Regions from separate parts of the Homo sapiens genome. Here regions 1 and 3 are each linked to region 2. The links are contacts of gene promoters, found by promoter capture Hi-C in blood cells and fetal thymus (Javierre and others, 2016). All regions are on one chromosome and are shown on one strand. Each heading gives the region's core, a stretch centred on a gene start or on the middle of the fragment in contact. The rest is flanking DNA. Distances are from core to core; before and after follow the strand shown. Region 1 overlaps COX17 (cytochrome c oxidase copper chaperone COX17). Region 2 holds the start of WDR5B (WD repeat domain 5B). Region 3 holds the start of TIMMDC1 (translocase of inner mitochondrial membrane domain containing 1).

Evidence for each region. The method cuts DNA at HindIII sites, captures the fragments that hold promoters and counts their contacts. A CHiCAGO score of 5 or more calls a contact.
Region 1: a fragment that was not itself captured here is called in contact with the fragment with the promoter of WDR5B in region 2 in 1 of 17 cell types (total CD8 T cells); the score reaches 5.5 in total CD8 T cells.
Region 3: a contact is called between the fragment with the promoter of TIMMDC1 here and the fragment with the promoter of WDR5B in region 2, in 6 of 17 cell types (non-activated CD4 T cells, total CD8 T cells, naive CD8 T cells and 3 more). The highest score is 7.8, in non-activated CD4 T cells.

Annotation. Positions count from the first base shown.
Region 1 is chr3:119,674,147-119,677,262 of GRCh38, reverse strand. It overlaps COX17 (cytochrome c oxidase copper chaperone COX17), which reads left to right. Exons shown (of 3, transcript NM_005694.2): 1 at 1-59; 2 at 2,030-2,118. The coding sequence ends at 2,114. Among named protein-coding and RNA genes, the nearest start is that of COX17, 1.7 kb to the left of the region's middle. The HindIII fragment of the contact is 1,750 bases long and covers 376-2,125 here.
Region 2 is chr3:122,414,364-122,417,501 of GRCh38, reverse strand. It overlaps WDR5B (WD repeat domain 5B), which reads left to right and starts at 1,440. Exons shown (of 1, transcript NM_019069.4): 1 at 1,440-3,138. The coding sequence starts at 1,974. The coding sequence ends at 2,966. It overlaps WDR5B-DT (WDR5B divergent transcript), which reads right to left and starts at 1,296. Exons shown (of 3, transcript NR_125405.1): 1 at 1,252-1,296. RefSeq lists enhancers at 1-642, 746-945, 1,106-1,155, 1,186-1,425, 643-1,460 and 1 more. The HindIII fragment of the contact is 1,055 bases long and covers 792-1,846 here.
Region 3 is chr3:119,497,017-119,500,518 of GRCh38, reverse strand. It overlaps TIMMDC1 (translocase of inner mitochondrial membrane domain containing 1), which reads right to left and starts at 1,972. Exons shown (of 7, transcript NM_016589.4): 1 at 1,592-1,972. The coding sequence starts at 1,785. RefSeq lists an enhancer at 2,183-2,232. The HindIII fragment of the contact is 2,873 bases long and covers 1,448-3,502 here.

The DNA of each region.
Region 1 (3,116 bases), core at 1-2,500, 2.7 Mb after region 2:
AAGAAGCCGCTGAAGCCCTGCTGCGCTTGCCCGGAGACCAAGAAGGCGCGCGATGCGTGGTCAGTGCGCAGCCGGAGAGGGCGCGGCCGACGAGCCCCGGGCCGCGGCCTGTGCCTTCCGGTGCCTCTGCCCTACGGCCTCTGCCCTCTGCCTTCTGCCCTCTGCCCTCTGCCTTCTGCCCTCTGCCCTCTTCCTTCCCCCCTTCCCCCACTCCTCCTCCCTGTCTGCCCCCCCCCCCCGCCCCGCCCCGCCCCGCCCCATTGCGGCGCTCTGGAGATAATTATTGGGCCTTGTAGGTTTCGTGGTCGGGTCTCTGTTGACTTATCCCGTAGCTTAGTACCGGGAAACGATGGAGAGAGAGGAGAACGGCAAGCTTCAACCACTCATTCCTTCCTACAAATGTGTGTTGAGTATCTGTTATGGGTTAAGCACTGCGTTAGGTCCGAAGATGTAGACATGGATAAAGATGCATCTTGATATAAAGGAGCTTAAAGTTAATGGAGACATAAACCAGTGACTTGTATACGACGTGGTAAGGGCTATGATAGATTTGTTAAGACCAAACAGGAAAGGTTTTCTGGTAATTTCTAAGGCTTTCTCCCAAAATTTAGAGACAGTAGGACACAGAGTGTATTCCTTACAGTTCTGAAGAGTTACGCTTCAACCCTTTTAAGACAACCAAAAGTTGAAAATCAATCAGTCTACGACGCAGGGGACAAAGTATTAAGAATAGTTCATCTAGATTGTCAATCCACAAAAGATTTGTTCTCATTTTATATAGCCTCTCTTGTGGAGCAAATCTCATTAGAGGACGTCCTCAGATAACGTGAATGTGCATCTCTTCCTCTGGCCCCTTTTGTCTTCCCAGATAGTAGATATAAGAAAGAAATCATTAGTGGTATAATGGGATAATAAGAGTGTAGGAGCTCAGTGCTTTTATTAATCCTCAGTACTTTGTAAATAATACGGGTAGGATTGAAAGACTAGTCTGAACAAATTGTTCCAGTGGTAACAGTAAGTGCTGTTGAACCTTGAATGGTATGACAGCATGATTAAGAGTCTGGGATCCACAGTCAAGGTTTGAATCTTAATCCACTAACTTGGTGACCTTGAGCCTCATGTGTCTGTAAAATGACTCTAATAAAAGAAACTCCCTCCAGTATTATTGTAAAGGTTAATGATACAAGCCATGTCAAGTGGCTAACACAGTATACATGGCAATAAATGATCAATGAATGCTAGCTATTATCTTCACAATGATCTCACTATCCCAGGCAATCTCCCATTTGCAGGCAGCTCTTGAGCTATTGAAGGATGGGTAGAGTTTCCATGGAAGGAGAACCTATTCCCTTTGTTAAATTCCCTTTGCCTCGATTGCCTCAGACCACGTGGGTTCTCCCCAAATATCCATAGTCAGGAGTCAGTTTTTCCTTGTAATTGAATTGGGCTTAACTTGATTATTTGCAAAATCACATTTTCAGGCCTTAGAAATAAAGCTGTGTAGTCCTAGTCTTTACTTTGTGAATTTTACAAGTAAAATATTCTTTGATCATCATGAGGGGGTGTTTATCTCGGTCTCCTGGCTACCAGATGTTTTTGATGTAATTAGAAGTAGATTTATTTGGTTGTGTTTGAATGTAGGGCAAAATCAGAAAGTTAATTTCTCTGTGATAATAAGCAAAAAATTGAGCTGTTCTCTGTGCCCTTCATTTAGCATAAATATTTTACTCAGTTTATTTCTTTATAGAGCAGTGTTACTCCTTGGATATTGACTAGAGGCAATATTTAATATGCGTGATTATTTCTTATCAGATTTCCCCCCCAAAATCACTTATCTGTGGAATGTCTTCATAGGCATGGGCATATCATAAGATCAAATAAAAACAAAGCTGTTTGAGGTAATAGCGTTTGTTTTAATTCCAGCTACATTCCATTATACCCGTGTTTTGTCTCACTCCCCATCACTATCATGCATACTTAATAATGTGCTTAATGCATATTTAGATAACAAGTACATTTTGTTTTATAGTATCATCGAGAAAGGAGAAGAACACTGTGGACATCTAATTGAGGCCCACAAGGAATGCATGAGAGCCCTAGGATTTAAAATATGAAATGGTAAGCTTCTTGCTTCAAAGTTGTGTATTGCTTTACAGATTTAGCAACAATTGGGCTACATTCTCTCTGAAAGGTAGTTCACCTGGTTAATCTAAAATGCTTAAGTATCAATTTGAAAAAACCATGATTTTTCAGTTCCCAATGAAGGGAGTAAATTATGTCAGTAAAGACAGTCATTTAGCGGATTGGGGAAGGGGAGAATTGAGCTTTTAAGAAAGGGTTTGACAAAAGCCTTTAGGTCCCATGGCTTTAGGAAAATTGACTGAGGGAACTAAAAGAAACATATTCTCTTTCTTGTTTCTAATAAATATTGTGGGACTTCAGTAAATGCTTTTTTTTTTTTTTTTTTGAGACAGGGTCTCACTCTGTTACCCAGGCTGGGGTGAAGTGGCCCAATCACAGCTCATTGCAGCCTCAACCTGGGAGGTTCAGGTGATCCTCCCCTCAGCCTCCTAAGTAACTGGGACTACAGGTGTGGGCCACCGTGCCTGGCTAATTTTTTGTGTTGTTTTTTAGAGATGGGGTTTCACCATCTTGCCCAGGCTGGTCTCAACCTCTTGGACTCAGGCAATCCTCCTGCCTTGGTCTCCCAAAGTGCTGGGATTAAGAGGTGTGAGCCACTATGCCTGGCCAAGAAATGCTTTTAAGTAGGGAGTGGGTATCCCACGGAAGTATTGCTTTCTGAAAAATGAAAATGGAATTGTAGCATGCTTTATTCGAATAAAACTAAAGCCTCAGGCCATTTTTTTTTTAATTAAAAAGTAAACTTTAATGTCAAAAATGCAAACTTGGGGAAGACAGAAAAGATCACACACAAGGCTGTCACTTCACACTTGGAAGGTTGCACAGCGGCCGGGCAGAGGTGCTCCTCACTTCCCAGACGTGGGGCAGCCGGGCAGTGGTGCTCTTCACTTCCCAGACAGGGCAGAAGCCGGGCCGAGGCACTCCTCACTTCCCAGACAGTGGGCAGCTGGGCAGAGACGCTCCACACTTCCCAG
Region 2 (3,138 bases), core at 191-2,690:
GGATACCCATTGTTTCCAAGTGCTTTTAAATTCTTGACGCTGATGAGACATTTGCATCGTGACCAGCCACCAGTAAAATCTTTTAAGCCACGTTTTTTCTGCTTTTCTTGGGCACTCTTTTTTTTTTTTTTTTTGAGACGGAGTCTCACTGTTGCCCAGGCTGGAGTGCACTGGTGGAATCTCAGCTTACTGCACCCTCCACCTCCTGGTTCATGCCATTCTCCCACCTCAGCCTCCTGAGTAGCTGGGACTACAGGCGTGCGCCATCACGCGCAGCTAATTTTTGTATTTTTAGCAGTATTGGTTGCGCCATGTTGGTCAGGCTGGTCTCGGACACCCGACCTAAAGTGTCCCGCCCGACTGGGCCTCCCAAAGTGCTGGGATTACAGGCGTGAGTGCTCGGCCTCGGGCACTCTTTACTGAGCAACAACAGGTTGGAGAAACTAGTAGGGCTTCCAGTTTTTTGGTAAACCTATTGTTTAAAAGTCTGCCTGGTCATCAGATTCCAGTCGTCTTGTTTCTGCCTCAGATGATAAAACTCTAAAATTATAGGATGTGAGATCTGGAAAATGTTTGAAAACACTAAAGGGGCACAGTAATTATGTCTTTCGTTGCAACTTCAATAGCATGTATATTTTACACACTTTCATGACCATTAATCATCTCCTAAAACTGGGGAAAGCTCTCTAAAACCTCCTTAAGAGTAACCTTATCCGTTACCCTATTCCACCAACCTCTTTGTCCTTTTCTGTTTCAAGCAACTTTGAGATACCGACTTCTCTATGGAAGCTTAAGCCGTAGATGCTAAAACAAACGTTTGCTCGTTACTCCCAGCAGAGCACCGGCTTTTAAAGGACCTCAACAGACACGTTTCTTAACCTTTACGAAACTTTTCCAGGGGAAACTTAAACCAGGAATTTTACAATCTGGCATAAATTCTGTCACCCGCCCCGTGACTCCATCGCCACACATGCCACCTGGCTCCACACCACAACAAACAGGAGGGAGCGGAACCCATGCAAAGCAGGAGCTTCCCCCGTTTCCGGCGTCTGGGTGGATCTACGTTAGCTGCCGTTTAGGCAGCTTACGCGTCAGGTGTGGGCCTAAGCCTGCAGCTAAGGTAGGCATCCGCAAATCTAGTCCTTCTCTGTGACAATTTCCAAAAAGAAATGGTTTTTGAAACAACGATCCACTGCTTCCCACACTATCCAGTTAGGTCCGGGACAGACCCTACCCAGCTAATGCACTCACCCAAGAAGGCAGTCGCTTTCGCATTTGAAGGGCGGGGCGAAAAAGACCGGAAATGAACATTGGCGACTTTTTTGCGCAGGCGCAGATGGCCGTCTCCCATTGGTCATCTCGGCTCGGTAGTGGTAGGAGGGACTTCCTTTGCACATGCGCCAGGCTGCTTTTCCGGCTTTGTTGGAGATTGACGCGGCAGTGCACACCTGCTGGTACGAGCAAAAGTAGCCGACAGGCCAGAGTTTCCAGTTTCGGTGGCTTCGTAGGCTTTTAGCTTCTGAAATCCGCTAAAAGCGGCGGTTCATTCATCTTCAAGTACCTAGCCTGACTGGTAGGGCTGCTCAGCATTCCGAAACATTTCGACCTGGGGAGGGGGGCGGCGGTGAAAGAATACTTTCTGTAGAGAGTGCCCCTCGCGTCGCCCCTGCTTTGAAGGCTTTATGTATTAACGGAATGCCGAACATTTGTGTCCTACTTGCTGACAGCGCACAGGATCCTTCTAACAGTATTTCTCAAGTACTTAACAAAAAGATGAAAACTTGAAGTCCAAGCCGTGCTGCTGATTCCGTCTCACAGTTTAAAGACTGTCCAGAAACTTTAAGCTTTCAAAACTGTACATTTTAAAATCCTGTGCGTTTATCTTCATTTTGCTGGGCAGAAAGCCAAAGTACTGGACTGCCTGGTTCAGGGCTGAACGCCTAGTACACCTGCTAACTTGGAGCTTCAGAGCCATGGCAACCAAGGAGTCAAGAGACGCCAAAGCACAGTTGGCCCTCTCCTCATCGGCCAATCAGAGCAAGGAAGTGCCTGAAAACCCAAACTATGCTCTCAAATGTACTCTTGTGGGACACACGGAAGCAGTGTCATCAGTTAAGTTTAGTCCTAATGGAGAATGGCTAGCAAGTTCTTCTGCTGATAGGCTAATCATAATTTGGGGAGCATATGATGGAAAATATGAGAAAACACTCTATGGTCATAATTTGGAAATATCGGATGTTGCCTGGTCATCAGATTCCAGTCGTCTTGTTTCTGCCTCAGATGATAAAACTCTAAAATTATGGGATGTGAGATCTGGAAAATGTTTGAAAACACTGAAGGGGCACAGTAATTATGTCTTTTGTTGTAACTTCAATCCGCCATCCAACCTTATAATCTCGGGATCTTTTGATGAGACTGTAAAAATATGGGAGGTGAAAACAGGAAAGTGTCTCAAGACTTTGTCTGCTCATTCTGACCCAGTTTCTGCTGTTCATTTTAATTGTAGTGGGTCCTTGATAGTGTCAGGTAGCTATGATGGCCTCTGTAGAATCTGGGATGCTGCATCAGGTCAGTGTTTAAAAACGCTCGTTGATGACGATAACCCTCCTGTCTCTTTTGTAAAATTTTCTCCAAATGGTAAATACATTCTCACTGCAACTTTGGACAACACTCTTAAACTATGGGATTATAGCAGAGGCAGGTGCCTGAAAACATACACTGGTCATAAGAATGAGAAATATTGCATATTTGCCAATTTTTCAGTTACTGGTGGAAAGTGGATTGTGTCTGGTTCCGAGGATAACCTGGTTTACATTTGGAACCTTCAGACTAAAGAGATTGTGCAGAAATTACAAGGCCATACAGATGTTGTGATCTCAGCAGCTTGTCATCCTACAGAAAACCTCATCGCATCAGCAGCATTAGAAAATGACAAAACAATTAAACTGTGGATGAGTAACCACTAATCCCTTTGAAAATCAAGTAGTAGAGCCAAGTTGGCCAAAAAACTTGGATATTTAAAAAGACGGTTTCTTTTAATTTTGGCAGTTTGGTATTTTAAAAATTGTCTATTGTTAAATTTTGAGATTCATACACTACATTTACAAAATGAGATAGTTGAAAAAGCACATCTAGAAT
Region 3 (3,502 bases), core at 723-3,222, 2.9 Mb after region 2:
ACGAAGCTATGGTGTTAGAATTAGGATAGTGGCAACTCCTGAAAAGACAATGACCGGAAAAGGCACAAGGGGAGCTTTTGGGATGTTACAATAGTTGCCATTTCTTTCTTAGTGCTGGGTACAGCTATGTTCAGTTTGTGAAAATTCATCCATCAGTATACTTAGGCACATTTTTCGAAATGCATTTCCTACTCCAATAAAAAGTTTTTTAAAAGGTGCTTTTGATGACTATTACACCCCTAGAAATAGGAAGAATTTGTGAGTTGGATAGAGAGACCAATATTTCCGTTTAAATCTTAAGTTAACTTTTAGAAATCACACCAACTCGTGAGATTTTAGGGCAATGTATGAAAGAATAAAAACGTGGATGTAAGACAAAAAATCTAAATTCTATTTTACTAAATAATTTCATGAAATACTCAGATAGGACTGTACTAATAAAAGCACTGGGCTGGGCACAGTAGCACACGCCTGTAGTCACAGCTAACTTAGGAGGCTGAGGTAGGACTTGAGCCCGAGTTCAAATCCAGCATAGCAACATAGCAAAGATCCTGGCTCTAAAAATAAACAAATAAATGTTTTTTTAAAAACGCACTGGGAAAGTTCACTATGCAGTGGGTGGCACATGCCAATCTAAAATAACAAGGAAAAACTACTATTTAATTCGATTTGTTACTCTCAAATGCATAAGAAGCTAGAACTGCTAATGAAGCTTCCAAGATGTCATCCTGAGACTGCTCTAACAAATAGCTGTCTTAAGTATTAAGTTACTATAAAATAATTGCCCTTCTAGGCCGGGCGCAGTCCAGCCGCGGTGGCTCAGGCCTGTAATCCCAGCACTTTGGGAGGCGGAAACAGGCAGATCACGTGAGGTCAGGAGTTCCAGACCAGCCTGGCGAATGGTGAAATCCTGTCTCTACTAAAAATACAAAAATTAGCTGGGCATGGTAGTGGGCAACTGTAATCCCAGCTACTCTGGAGGCTGAGGCAGGAGAACCGCTTGAACCTGGGAAGTGAAGAGTGCAGTGAGCCAAGATCGCACCACTGCACTCCAGCCTGGGCGATAGAGCGCGACTCAGTCTCGAAAAAAAAAAAAAAAAGAAAGAAAAATACGAGTTTGGGCTGGCGCGGTGGCTCACGCCTGTAATCCCAGCACTTTGGGAGGCCGAGGTAGGCGGATCGCCTAAGTCCAAGAGTTCAAGACCAGCCTAGGCAACATGGTAAGAACCCTGTCTATAAAAAATACATTAAAAAAAAATTAGCCGGGCGTGGTGGTGCGCGCCTGTAGTCCCAATTAATCGGGAGGCTGAGGTGGGAGGATCACTTGAGTCCCAGAGGCAGAGGTTGCAGTGAGCCGAGATAGCACCACAGCACTCCAGCCTGGGCGACAGAGCAAGACCCTGTCTGGAAAAAAAAAAAAAAAAAAGAAAGAAAAAAGATACAAGCTTGGGTTACAAATATCAGAACCTCAAATATAATCTAAAAATGAAGCACACCATCCTTGGTGTCCTAAGGCTGACCCAGGCTGCCCACGCTGCAGGACACCGCTTTCGCGGCCCCCTACCCCACTTCACACCCTAGGCACTTTTACTCTTTGCCAAACAGCTCCCGGAGGCGGTCCCATCCAGATTCCGGGTAATAGGGCTCTGGGACGTAGGGAAGCCGCTTCTGACGCTCCTCAAGGACTTCCGAATCGGCAGTCACAGCTTCGGCAGCAAAGACTCGGGGAAATAGGCACAATGCTCTACAGAGAAAGCTCCGCGGTGCCGGTGGCGGCACCTCCATGGCCTTCTCTCGACCTACGGACAAACTTGAGCGCTCAGGACTTCAAGTCCTCGCGGACGTGCCGCGGGAGAGCGTAACTGTACGAGGTGAGAATCCGTGCATTTGACCCAGGTTAACCCTCTGCCAGAGGGCTCGACACCCACACCTTCAGTCCCCGGCCTCGCTTTGGAGTCCTTGGAAATACGACACAGGAAGTCCCGCCCGACCGGGGCAAAGGCCAGGGGGCGGGGCGACGGCGAAGCCGGAGCCCAAAAGACTTCCGGTTGAGGGCGGGTTGGGCCACTGCTGTGCTGAGTGCACCCCCGGAAGTGAGTTGGCTGCCAGTAGTGAAGCTCAGCGTGGTCCCGGCAGGCCTTCGCTCCGTGTTTGTGGTTCCTGGGTCATGCAAACGGTGTCTGCGGCTACTTATATTCAGCTTGAGGTGGTCATAGGTTGAAGTAATTTATCGTATTTAAAATGCCAGGAATTAGCCGGGCATGGTGGCGGGCGCCTGTAATCCTAGCTACTCGGGAGGCTGAGGTAGGAGAATCGCTTGAACCCGGGAGGCGGAGGTTGCAGTGAGCCGAGATCACACCACTGCACTGCAGCCTGGGCAACAAGAGCGAAAATCTGTCTCAAAAAAAAAAAAAAAAGGCAGGAATCCCGCTTCAGTAAGGAAGAAAGTGCAATATTCAGTGCAAGTGGAGTAGGGAAAGAGGGAAAGGCGATTTGTGCAAAAACAAGTCCAACCTACTCTGCCAACATTAGAGAAGCCTTCCAGGCTGGGCGGGGTCCGTTTGTACCTTGTCAGTTCTGCTGGAAAAAAAACGAGGCATTGGGGATGGGTGTTGGTGCCAGTTACACTAAGATTTCGAGAACACTTTTTTGAAGAATCAGCTTTTTGGCAGGTCTTCCTAAGGTGGATTTCACTCCCTTTAGTTCATATGCCTACTGCTTCTCAAAAGGCAGGAGAATTTCTGGAATTTCTATCAAGTGTTTGTATAATTTGCCGTCACTACAACCTCTGCTAACATATGCTTCGAAGTACAGTTTTCATTAAAATGAATGCATTTAAAATATTCTCAATATTCGTGTAATTTCATTCAATCCTTGTTAACAAGCATACTCCCTTATTCATTTTGCCAATCCCTTCACCTCCTTGATTCCTTTCTAGTTGTCAATCAAAACTGCCACACTGTAGTAGAATACAGTAAGTGGACTTAGGAATTTGATAGCTGGAAATGCTACACATAAGTCCCTGAGAAGTGACTGACTAGAGTGACCAGCTCAATTAGTGACAGCGCCATGAAGACTACTCTGGGATATGAGATTTGATTCAGCACTCATCGTAGCACTTACAACACTGCATCATAATTTCCTATTAATCTGTCTCAATAAACTATCCTTGAGATCACAGACCAAATATATTCATCTCTGTATCTCCAGGACCTAGAACCGCAGTAGGTGCTCAGTAAATATTTGTTGAATAATTCAGATCTCCTGACTTCTGGCTCTGGATTACTGCTTATCCCATGTTAGGTAGAAGTGGGCACCAAGATAAGTTACCAAGGCCTGAAAGCCCAAGAAAATGGCTGTACAGTCTGTTTCTAACCTATATGTAGAAAAAGCTAAATGCATAAGATGACCCCAGAATTATTCTGGGGTGAAGGAGGACTTGAAATGGGTAGGAGGGTTTGGGTGGGTGTTGGGAAGATACTGACACAATCACTTATGTACA